Linked DNA regions of Homo sapiens: all the other regions are linked to region 1. Evidence: promoter capture Hi-C in 16 types of primary human blood cells and fetal thymus (Javierre and others, 2016). All regions are on one chromosome and are shown on one strand. The core of a region is centred on a gene start or on the middle of the fragment in contact, and the rest is flanking DNA. Distances in the headings are between cores, read along the strand shown.

Region 1 (2,827 bases), core at 174-2,673:
AGAAATTCCTGTCCCTTTCTCATCACAGACACTGCATTCTGTAGGAACGCCAGACCTCTTCAGGGAAAATCTCCCCTCCCTGGATACCCCCCCACCCACCCCCACCCCCAGAAAAAAGGCTGTGGACCCTTCTCCTCCCTGACCCCTCCCCAGCCAATCCCTGACACTGTGAGGAGGACAGAGATTAACCTGGCCCAGAGGGAGGCAGGAAGCTGCCCAGGAAGGTGAGAGGATCTAGGTGGGCAGTTTCAGAGTGGCGGGGAAGAGGAGAGCTGCGAGGGGGAGGGGCAGCGGCTTATCTCTCCCAGGAGGGGGGAGCTCACTCCAAACAGCTAGTGCACTGGCGTGTGAAAGCCCCTCAATTAGCACTAATGATGCAATCAGGGAGGGAGGAGGAGGGACCGAAGTTCTGGTGGCGTCAGCACCAACTTACACACAAGGTACACATTCCCTTCATCGGACACAATGGCCCCTTCAGACACGCCGAGGCACACACTCCACAGACAGCCGTCCGTGGGCACAAACGCACTCTTTGCCCAAGCTACTAGCATGCACATGGTTTCTTATACGCGGCTGACCCCGTCAGACCCCAGGCATCTTGAGGGGTAGGGAGCGACCCCCAGCTGCATTTGGGGCTTTAGAGGCAAGGAAAATCAGAAACACTTTGGTAAAAGGAGTTGAACAGGGCATCCTCGGCGAGCTCACGAGCATTCCTCTATGCCTAGAGCTCCTGTCCCACGCGCGCTCGCAGGTGCTGGCCCGGCTGTGCCCGCTTCCCCCTCACCATCGCCCCAATCCGGAATCCGGGGCTGAGCGAGGAGCCGCCACCCCCGGCCCCACCCGCGAGAGACGGGGTCCACGCGCCTTCCCTGCGCCCAAACCGCCCCGAGGCCCCCAGTCCCAGGAGGGAGCGCTGAGATCACTCGGATCTCCGCACCCCGGACTTAGCTGCTCGTCCCCTCCGGAGCCCGCTACCCGCCGGCCTCGCCCCTTTATCTTTCCCCCACTCCGCCCGGCCGGCTCCGTTATCCACCTCCCAATCCCGTTATCCGGCCGCCCCGGCCCCGTTATCCGCCCTCGCGTTGGGCGCGGAGCCCCCGCGCGCCTCCTGGCCGCCGCCGCCCCCTCCCCCGCTCCCAGACGGAGCTCGGGGGACCGCGGGCTGGGCGGGACCGCGGGCTGGGCAGGACCGGAGCCGCCTCCGCGCCGCTTCCCAGGCCCGGACGGCCGCGGGAGGAGGTCCCGCTGTCAGTCAGCGGGGAAGGCCGGGCCGGGCGGCCGGAGGGGGCGGCGCCGAGGACGGGCTCGGGCCGGGAGCTGGGAGGTGGAGGCGGAGGGGCGGGGGAGGGGGCGGGGGAGGGGGCGGGGGCGGGGGCGGGGGGCGGCTCTGGGCCTTATAAGCGGCGGGGGCAGGGCGGCAGGGAGGCAAGTGTCAGGCCGATGTGTCGCCCGCGAGGGGCCGGGGTCGGGGCCGCCGGGGCCATGCGCGCGGGCTGGGCAGGGGGCCGGCGGGGCGCAGAGCGGAGCCGCCTCGGAGCCTGAGCCGCCCGGGGCCGGGGCCGGGGAGCCGCGCGGGGCCGGCCGGCCGGGGGGAGGGGAGCGATGCGGCGCCGGCGGGCGGCAGTGGCCGCGGGTTTCTGCGCCTCCTTCCTGCTGGGCTCCGTCCTCAACGTGCTCTTCGCTCCGGGCTCGGAGCCTCCGAGGCCAGGCCAGTCCCCTGAGCCTTCGCCGGCCCCGGGTCCGGGCCGTCGCGGGGGCCGCGGGGAGCTGGCCCGGCAGATCCGGGCGCGCTACGAGGAGGTGCAGCGCTATTCCCGCGGGGGCCCCGGGCCCGGGGCGGGCCGGCCGGAGCGGCGGCGCCTGATGGACCTGGCTCCGGGCGGGCCCGGCCTGCCGCGCCCCCGGCCCCCTTGGGCCCGGCCCCTGTCCGACGGCGCCCCAGGCTGGCCCCCGGCTCCCGGCCCAGGCTCCCCCGGCCCGGGCCCGCGCCTGGGCTGCGCCGCGCTTCGCAACGTGTCCGGCGCGCAGTACATGGGCTCAGGCTACACCAAGGCCGTGTACCGGGTCCGCCTGCCCGGCGGTGCCGCGGTGGCGCTCAAGGCGGTGGACTTTAGCGGCCACGATCTGGGCAGCTGCGTGCGCGAGTTCGGGGTACGGAGGGGCTGCTATCGGCTGGCGGCCCACAAGCTGCTTAAGGAGATGGTGCTGCTGGAGCGGCTGCGGCACCCCAACGTGCTGCAGGTACGAGGGTGGGGACGCGGGGGTAACGGTGTTGGCTGGGAGTGCCCAAGACCTTGTCAACCTGGCTGGAAGAGAACCCCTTGATCTGGAGTGCCAGTGACTGCACCCAGGCTAAGCTAGACGCAGAAACCGGACCATGGCCCTTCCCACTGCACCACCCTGCTTCTCACTCCTGGGTGGGCGTCCCTTTACCGGAGAACTCCTGGGTTTCTCGGCTTCCACACATCTCTTAAAGACAGGCCAGGACAGAGGCTCCCAAAACTCAGGGGGTGGGGCAGTCCATTAGGATTTAGGACTCTACTCCGGGCTGGAGTTAGGAGGTTGAACACCAGGGATATTACCCCAAGCCAAAATGACCCTAAGCCAAGACACTTGAGTCAGAATTCCAACTGTGTGATAAAGTCCCCCTTCTTGATGGAACTTCTCCCAACTTCCAGTGATTTGTCTGGTTTTGAAAATGAGACGGGACAGCAGTGGGGCTGGGAAGAGCTGGAAAGAGACCATGTGTCAGGCTTGATTCCTATAGAGTCTCCCCACCCACCCACCTCCAGCGCCACCCAGAAGACACTGGAAGGGGGCTGGGGAG
Region 2 (2,700 bases), core at 16-2,515, 170 kb after region 1:
AATCAGTGAAATTTCTTTTTTTAATTTTAAAGAGAGGGGGTCTTGCTGTGTTGTCCAGCCTAGACGTGAACTCCTGGGCTCAAGCAATCTTCCCATCTCAGCCTCGCAAGCAGCTAGGAATACAAACATGCACTGCAGCACTTGACTTAGTAAAAACTTTTAATGTAAGGTATAATGCAGTTAACTAATGCTTGTTATGCGTTTACTCCAAAATTTAACTGAAACACATTTGCTTGTTTCATCAGTGACATCATTTACACACCAATGACTCTTGGCCATGAAGAACCCACAGTGAACATAGAAAGTTTAGTTGTAGACCTTTAATTGATTAATTGTAGCAGAAACGGCATCAAATAAGGAAGAGCCCCCTTCATAAGGAAATACAGTTGACCCTTGAACAACACCAGTTTGAACTGGGCAGGTCCACTGATATGTGGATTTTTTCAACCAAACGTGGATTGAAAAATACAGTATTCCAGGGATGCCAAACCTGTGTATACAGAGGCCTCAGTTTTTGTATATGTGGATTGTGCAGGGCTGACTATGGGACTTGAGTATGCCCGGACTTGGTATATGTAGGAGTCCTGTAACCACCCTCCTGCATGTCTGAGGGATGACTGTAGATGTCTTTGAAAAGGTCTACCTGAAGTTCTGTAAATCTTAAGCTTGCTTTAGTTTCTACATTTAATTTTTCTTTTAGATTTTCATAGATTAGAAAATGACATTTTGCATTTAACAAAATTTTAAAAAATCAAAAAGTTTATGTATGTGGTTTTGTTTTGGTTTTGGTGCAGGACAATGCATTGAAAACCCCTTTCTGGCTGGGTGCAGTGGCTCACGCCTGTAATCCCAGGATTTTGGGAGGCCGAGGTGGGCAGATTACTTGACATCAGGACTTCAAGACCAGCCTGGCCAACATGGTGAAGCCCCATCTCTACTAAAAATACAAAAAAAAATTATTAGCCGGGCGTAAGGGGCGCATGTCTGTAATCCCAGCTACTTGGGAGGCTGAGGCAGGAGAATCACTTGAACCTGGGAGGTGGGGGTTGCAGTGAGCCAAGATCGTGCTACTGCAGTGCAGCCTGGGCGACAGAAGGAGACTCCATCTAAAAAAAAAAAAAAAAGGAAAACTCTTTTTTGCCAGGAATAGCTGCTTTGAAAATTTCTGTATAGGAAGGGCTTAAGGGGTGGCAGTTTGGGTAGGGGAGTATGTCTTGAAGATTTATTTTGTTGCTGCACATTATTTTCACTCATAGTGTATGTCATAGATCATTGGAAACAGCAAAATTCTCAAAAAATTGTTTTACTTATCTATAATACGTGTATAACACATAATTGAAAAAATACCAGTTATCCATATCAAATTCAGGCATACTTTGTTTTATTGTGCTTCATACTCTTGCACTTTGCAGATACTGTATTTTTTTTTTTTTTTTTTTTTACAAATTGAAGGTTTTTGGCAACCCTGCATTGAGCAAGTGTATTGGCCCCGTTTTTCCAACAGCATGTGTACCCACTTCATCTGTGTCACGTTTTGCTAGTTCTCACAGTATTTCAAACTTTTTCACTATTATTATATCTCTTACGGTGACCTGTGATCCATTACCTTTGATGTTACTGTTGTAATTGTTTTGGAGTGCCATGAGTGACACCCATTTAAGATAGCCTACTTAATAAATGTTGTGTGTTCTGACTGCTCCACACACTGGCTGTTCCTCTGTCTCTCTCCCTCTCCTCAGGCCTCCCTATTCCCTGAGATAACAATATTGAAATGAGGCCAGTTAATAATCCTACAATGGTTCTTAAGTGTTCAAGTGAAAGGAAGAGTGCACGTTTCTCACTTTAAATCAAAAGCTAGAAATGATGAAGCTTAGATGAAGAAGGCATGTCAAAAGCTGAGATAGGCTGAAAGCTAGGCTTCTCATACCAGACAGCCAGTTGTGAATGCAGAGAAAAAGTTTCTGAAGAGTGCTACTCCAGTGAACATATGAATGATAAAGTTAAACAGCCTTATTGCAGATACGGAGAATGTTTGCATGTTCTGAATATAAAGTCAGACCAGACACAACATTCCCTTAAGCCAAAGCCTAATCCAGAGCAAGGCTCTAACTCTCTTCATTTCTATGAAAGCTGAGAGACGTGAGGAAGCTGCAGAAGTTTGAAGCTAGCAGAGATTAGTTCATGAGGTTTAAGGAAAGAAGCCATCTCCATACATAAAAGTGCAAGGTGAAGCAGCAGGTTCTGAAGTGGAAGCTGCAGCAGGTTATCTAGAAGATTTAGCTAAGATCATTGATGAAGGTGGCTGCACTAAACAACAGATTATCAGTGTAGACAACACTGTCTTATATTAGAAAAAGATGTTACCCAGTACTTTCATAGCTAGAGAAGAGAAGCCAATGCCTGGCTTCAAAGGACAAGCTGACTGTTGAGGGGGTATTGTAGCTGATGACTTTAAGTTGAAGCCAGTGCTCATTGACCATTCTGAAAATCCTAGGGCCTTGGGATTATTCTACCCTGCGCATGTGTATGCTCTAGAAATGGAACAACAAAGCTTAGATGACAGCACATTGTTTACAACATGGTTTACTTTTTTTTTTTTTTTTTTTTTTTTGAGACAGGACCTTGCTTTGTCACCCAGGCTAGAGCGCAGTAGTGCTATCATGGCTCACTGCAGCCTCAATGTCCCGGGCCCAAGCAATC
Region 3 (2,715 bases), core at 126-2,625, 240 kb before region 1:
CGTAAAAAGTCTAGCTTCAGTCCATCCATACCACAGGAAGTTCTACATCATGGACTGCACCACAGGGTTTGTCCCACCTAGAAACAAGAGTGCTGGGTTGTTATATATCAACATCAGTGAGTCACTGTCTGGTATTGGAGGCAGGGGTCATAATTTCAAGGCATCTCCCAACTAGGTGACTCCCATCCATCAAAGGCAATCCTCCAAAGAAAGGTGAAGGTATGAACCAGTATTAGGCAAGACTTGGAGTAGCTGGAAGATAAGTGCACTGGCCCAGTTAAGGGAATTAGGTCCAGGCACAAATATCAATTCCTATGCTTACCACTTAAAGGAAAAACATTTCAGATTGGATCACAAAGCAAAACTGAACTCTATGTTGTATACTCAAGAGACAACCTAACACTGACACGAAGACAGATGAATAGACCAATAAAACGGAATAGAGAGCCAAGATACAAACTCATATATATATATATATATATATATATATACACACACACACACACACACACATATATATACGTATATATGTATATTTTGGTCAACTGGTCTTCAGCAAGGGTACCAAAAATACACAATGCAGAAAAAAAATAGTCTTTTCAGCAAAGAAAACTGGGAAAACTGGATATTCACACACAAAAAAAATGAAACTCGATCCCCTATCTTACACAAAAAAATCAACTCAAAATGAATTAAGGTTTTAAATGTAAGACCTAAAACTATAAAACTCCTAGAAGAAAACATAGGGGAAAAACTTTTTGACATTGGCTTTGGCAATGATTTATTGCATAGACACAAGAAATGCAAGCAACAAAAGCAAAAGTAGACAAGTGGAATTGCATCAAATTAAAAAGCTTCTGCACAGCAAAGGAGACAATTAGCAGAGTGAAAAGGCAACCCATGGAATGGGAGAATATATACGCAATATATATTTCATAAGTGATTAATATTCAAAATTCATAAGGAACTCATAGAACTCAATAGCAAGGAAACAACCCAATTTTTAAAATGGGAAAAGGACTTGAATAGACATTTCTCCAAAGAAGATGTATGAGTGGCCGATAAGTATATGAAAAGATTCTCAATATCACCAATCATCAGGAAAAGGCAAATCAAAACCCCAAAGAGATCGATATCATCTCATATCTGTTAGAGTGGCTATTATTACAAATATATATAAGTGATGCTGAGGATGTAGAGAAACTGGAACGCTTGTGAACTGTTAGCAAGAATGTAAAATGATGTAGCTACGATGGAAAACAGTATGGAGGTTCCTCAAAAAAAATAAAACTGCCATATGATCCAACAACCCCACTTCTGAGTATATATTCAAAAGAATTGAAATCAGGATTTCAAAGAGATACCTGTTCTCTCGTGTTCACTGCAGTGTTATTCACAATAGCCAAGATATGGAAAAAATCCAAATACTCATCAACAGATGAATAAAGAAAATCTGATATATTTATAAAATGGAAACTCAATCAGCCTTTAAGAAGGAAATCTTGTCATTTGCAAAAATGTGGATGAACCTGGAAAATATTTTGCTAAGTGAAGTTAAGCCAGTCACAGAGGGAAAAATATTGCATGATTCCACTTATATGAGGTAACTAAAATAGTCAAACTCATAAAAATGTTAAGTAGAATGGTGGCTTCCAGGGGTTGGAAGGAAGGGAAAATGGGGAGTTGCTGTTTAACAGGTATAAAGTTTCAGTTATGCAAGATGAATAAATTCTAAAGATCTATTGTTCAACATAGTGTCTATAGTTAATACTACTATATTATGCACTGAAAAATTGTTAAAAGAGGATCTCATCTCAAGAGTTTTTACAACAACAATAATGAAGAAAAAGGAAAATTTAAAGGTGACTGATAATGTCTATCACTTTTATTGTGAATGAAGCTTTCATAAGTATATTCATATGTCCAAATTCATCAAGTTGTAGCCATTAAATATGTAAAGTTTAACGATTACACCTAAATAAAGCTATTTTTAAAGGAAACAACCTAAACCAAAATTATTTGAAAAGACTAAAATTAAAGAGATAGGCAAATGTATACAAGGCAAATGAAAAATACTAGAAACAGTGATTGCCATCTTGATATCACATAGTGAAACCTCAAAAACAAAACACTGTGTGAAATAATAAAGGCCATTTTAAAATTCAAGCAATGCATTACAGTAAAAATACAGTTAATAATATCTTTGTCCCAAATAATATAACAACCATATTTATAAAGGAGAAACTACAAGAAATTCAGGGAGAAATGGTCAGAAAAACATTAACAATAGGATACATTAACCATTCTCAGTTAAAAGCAGGTCAAATAGACAAAAAAAATAGTAAGGATATAGAAGATCTAAACAAAATAATTAGTAAAATATAGATTAAAATGTATATTAAGCTCCCAAATACAACAATAGAGAATGTAATTTTTTTCAAGTGTACATGGAACATTCACAAAATTGACCATACATTAAGTTACAAAGAAAACCTCAATAAGTTTCATTTAAAAACAGAGACATACTAAAGGATATGTGGCAGACATATTCTAATGATCCCTAATGATCCATGCCCTTGTACAATCCCCTCTTCGTGAGTATGGACAGAACCTACAATGTGCTTCTAGTCAACAGAATATGACTTGGGGATGGGATGTCACTCCCATGAGTATACTATGTTATGTAAGACTCCATATTAGCAGACTAGAGTGAGA
Region 4 (2,700 bases), core at 50-2,549, 240 kb after region 1:
GATTTTTTTTTTTCTTTGCCAGAGGATAAGCTCTAGAGACATAGGGCCTACATTTTTTTTGTTCAGAACTGAATGTTCACCATTATGCCTGATACACATTAGGATTTCAATACATATTTGTCTGGTAAATGAGGAAACTAAGATCTTAACATACTGAAAGAGTCAGGTTACGCTAGGGATAATGGCAGGATATGAGTTTTCCTTTTTTTTGGTGGAGGGGTGGGGGTGGGCGGCAACAGGGTCTCTGTGGCCCAGGCTGGAGTGCAGTGGCACGATCACTGCTCACTGTAGCCTTGACCTGACCTCCTGGGCTCAAGTGATTCTCCCACCTCAGACTCCCAAGTAGCTGGAACTACAGGCACAGGCCACCATGCCTGGCTAATTTTTTTTATTTTCTGTCGAGATGGGGTCTCACTATTGCCCGCACTACTCTCAAACTCCTGGACTGAAGTGATCCTCCCACCTTGGCCTCCTGAAGGGCTAGGATTACACGTGTGAGCACTCTGCCCGTCCAGGACATGAGTTTTCTAGTTCTAGTTCAGTCTTCTTCATTGTACCTTCCTAATTCCTTAAGTATCCATGAAAAATCTGTTAACAACTTGAAAACTGTGTTTATTTAAAACCTTGACTCTTTTTCTGTTAAGATATGGTTATCGAGGAAAGGACTGTAGAGCTAATGTTTACCTTCTTCCGACCGGGAAAATAGTTTATTTCATTGCATCAGTAGTAGTACTATTTAATTATGAGGAGAGAACTCAGCGACACTACCTGGGCCATACAGACTGTGTGAAATGGTTGGTATCATTTAACATTGGTTCATTTTTGTTCTTTCAGGCCCTCATTTTGTATTTTTTAAATTTGGGTTTTATTGAAAGTGATTTCTTGTGGAAAGCTCAGAATGTAAAAATATTATGGGTCATCTGTTGAATATATTTTAAAAAGAAAAAAAGGACTTTCGGCCTCCAAAATGGTGGTGTGGTATCAGCAGCAACAAAACACATCCTCCATAAATCATGATTGGAACCTCTTCTGCTTTCTCATGTCGTACAGTCCTTCTCTTCTCTGGTCTGTAGTGTGAAACATATATGGGACAGACTGGACATTTTCAGGTTTCTGAAAGTGATTATTGGTTACTCGATATTTATTGAGGATTTGTCCTATGTAGATAAATTTTATACTTGAAGCTTTATTCTTTTGGGAAGAAAGAAATCTAGCTGAATAAGGATCATAAGTATGCCGTAGGATGTCATACTACAAATGTGAGAACTCCTTTTAAATGCTTTTAAATTATTTTGTTACTTTTTAGTTAAATGCAATTATTTATTGTTTATTAATATTTTCCAACTTTTATTTTTTATTTATTACCCTTTTCCCCACTTAGATCCAAGGACTGACTGGATGTTTTCCAACATTTAAAAGCTTTTATGTCTGTACTATGCTGGCACCTGTATCTTTATCCAGAAAAAAATTAATAGATGACTATTATAATATTATATAGATATTGAACTTTTGGAGTTGATTAAAATATTGCCTTTTACACTTGCAGAATAATGTATGTACAAAACTATTTACTGCAGCATTGTTTGTGATGAAGATTAGAAACAGCCTAAGTATTTTTCAGTTGGGGACTACTGGTGAGGTTGTAGTGTACCTATAGGTCACCATGTAGCTGTAAAGAATGAGGAAGCACTTTATGTATTAATATGTAAATATCCCTCTGATGTGTTCTTAAGTACAAATATTTAAGAGCAAGAGAATGTTCACAGTGTACAACCGTTGTTGAAAGAGTCTAGATATGGACATAAAGATGTCTTTTTCAGAAATTTGCTAGTCACTCATATACGTGCTGTGAGTAATTTAGGCACATATGCTACGCTACTTCCCATTTCTATTTAAAAATTCCTTGCCTCAGTTTGACTTACAAGAATTTAGCGCTAAGAACTAATTAAAAGATTGAAAGCACTATGTGTGAAGATGCTCATTGCTGTTTTCTTTTGTTGAAAAGTAAGAAATGGCCTAAAAGATGGAAGAGTTGTCAAGTCAGCATGTATGAGGATTATGTAGCAAAAGGAAAAAATGCTTGTACTTTAATAGATTAAAATTAAACAGCACAATATTGCATCTTCACTATAATAAAGTCGTGTGATTTGTATGCCATTGTGCGTGGACTAGAAAGGAACTTCAGCAAATGAAAACAGTTCGTTAGCATGCCACAGTTATAAATATTTTCTTTGAACTTAGTGTTTCATTAATCTGTGCAGCTTAACAAGTAAAAAGTACAGCTGAAAATTCAGAAATCTTCAGATATTTGATGATTGTTTGATTTGCTGAAGAAAACAGATAAACGTATGTTTTTTAACGATTAAAAACTGCTTATTTGAAAAATGTCAGTACAAAGGTATTCTGTTGTTTCATGTTTCCTGTGTTTAAAATCATTCTTAATACTGCTTTTTAGCCTTGCTATACATCCTGACAAAATTAGGATTGCAACTGGACAGATAGCTGGCGTGGATAAAGATGGAAGGGTGAGTGGCATAGTGTTATGCCTTCTGTACCTAGAGACATTGCTGTTAGAGTGGAATCTATTGTAATTTTAACCACAACTCATTTGTTTTATTCTTTTAAAATTTAAGTACTGAGGAATTTCTAGTATAAGCATGGAAAAAACATTAGGATATAAGAACACTTTAAAAGACAGAG

What was found. The method cuts DNA at HindIII sites, captures the fragments that hold promoters and counts their contacts. A CHiCAGO score of 5 or more calls a contact.
Region 2: a fragment that was not itself captured here is called in contact with the fragment with the promoter of PKDCC in region 1 in 1 of 17 cell types (naive B cells); the score reaches 5.6 in naive B cells.
Region 3: a contact is called between a fragment that was not itself captured here and the fragment with the promoter of PKDCC in region 1, in 1 of 17 cell types (megakaryocytes). The highest score is 5.2, in megakaryocytes.
Region 4: a fragment that was not itself captured here is called in contact with the fragment with the promoter of PKDCC in region 1 in 1 of 17 cell types (naive B cells); the score reaches 5.0 in naive B cells.

Annotation. Positions count from the first base shown.
Region 1 is chr2:42,046,598-42,049,424 of GRCh38, forward strand. PKDCC (protein kinase domain containing, cytoplasmic) reads left to right here and starts at 1,424. Exons shown (of 7, transcript NM_138370.3): 1 at 1,424-2,241. The coding sequence starts at 1,603. RefSeq lists enhancers at 1-304, 305-809, 433-552, 2,053-2,312 and silencers at 723-1,012, 1,123-1,372, 1,523-1,702, 1,713-1,812, 1,943-2,012. The HindIII fragment of the contact is 13,255 bases long and covers 1-2,827 here.
Region 2 is chr2:42,218,817-42,221,516 of GRCh38, forward strand. All of the region lies in intron 1 of EML4 (EMAP like 4), which reads left to right. Among named protein-coding and RNA genes, the nearest start is that of EML4-AS1, 50 kb to the left of the region's middle. The HindIII fragment of the contact is 1,204 bases long and covers 664-1,867 here.
Region 3 is chr2:41,809,200-41,811,914 of GRCh38, forward strand. No RefSeq gene overlaps it. Among named protein-coding and RNA genes, the nearest start is that of LINC01913, 67 kb to the right of the region's middle. The HindIII fragment of the contact is 1,046 bases long and covers 853-1,898 here.
Region 4 is chr2:42,282,179-42,284,878 of GRCh38, forward strand. EML4 (EMAP like 4) reads left to right here. Exons shown (of 23, transcript NM_019063.5): 8 at 645-794; 9 at 2,456-2,525. Among named protein-coding and RNA genes, the nearest start is that of COX7A2L, 78 kb to the right of the region's middle. The HindIII fragment of the contact is 235 bases long and covers 1,183-1,417 here.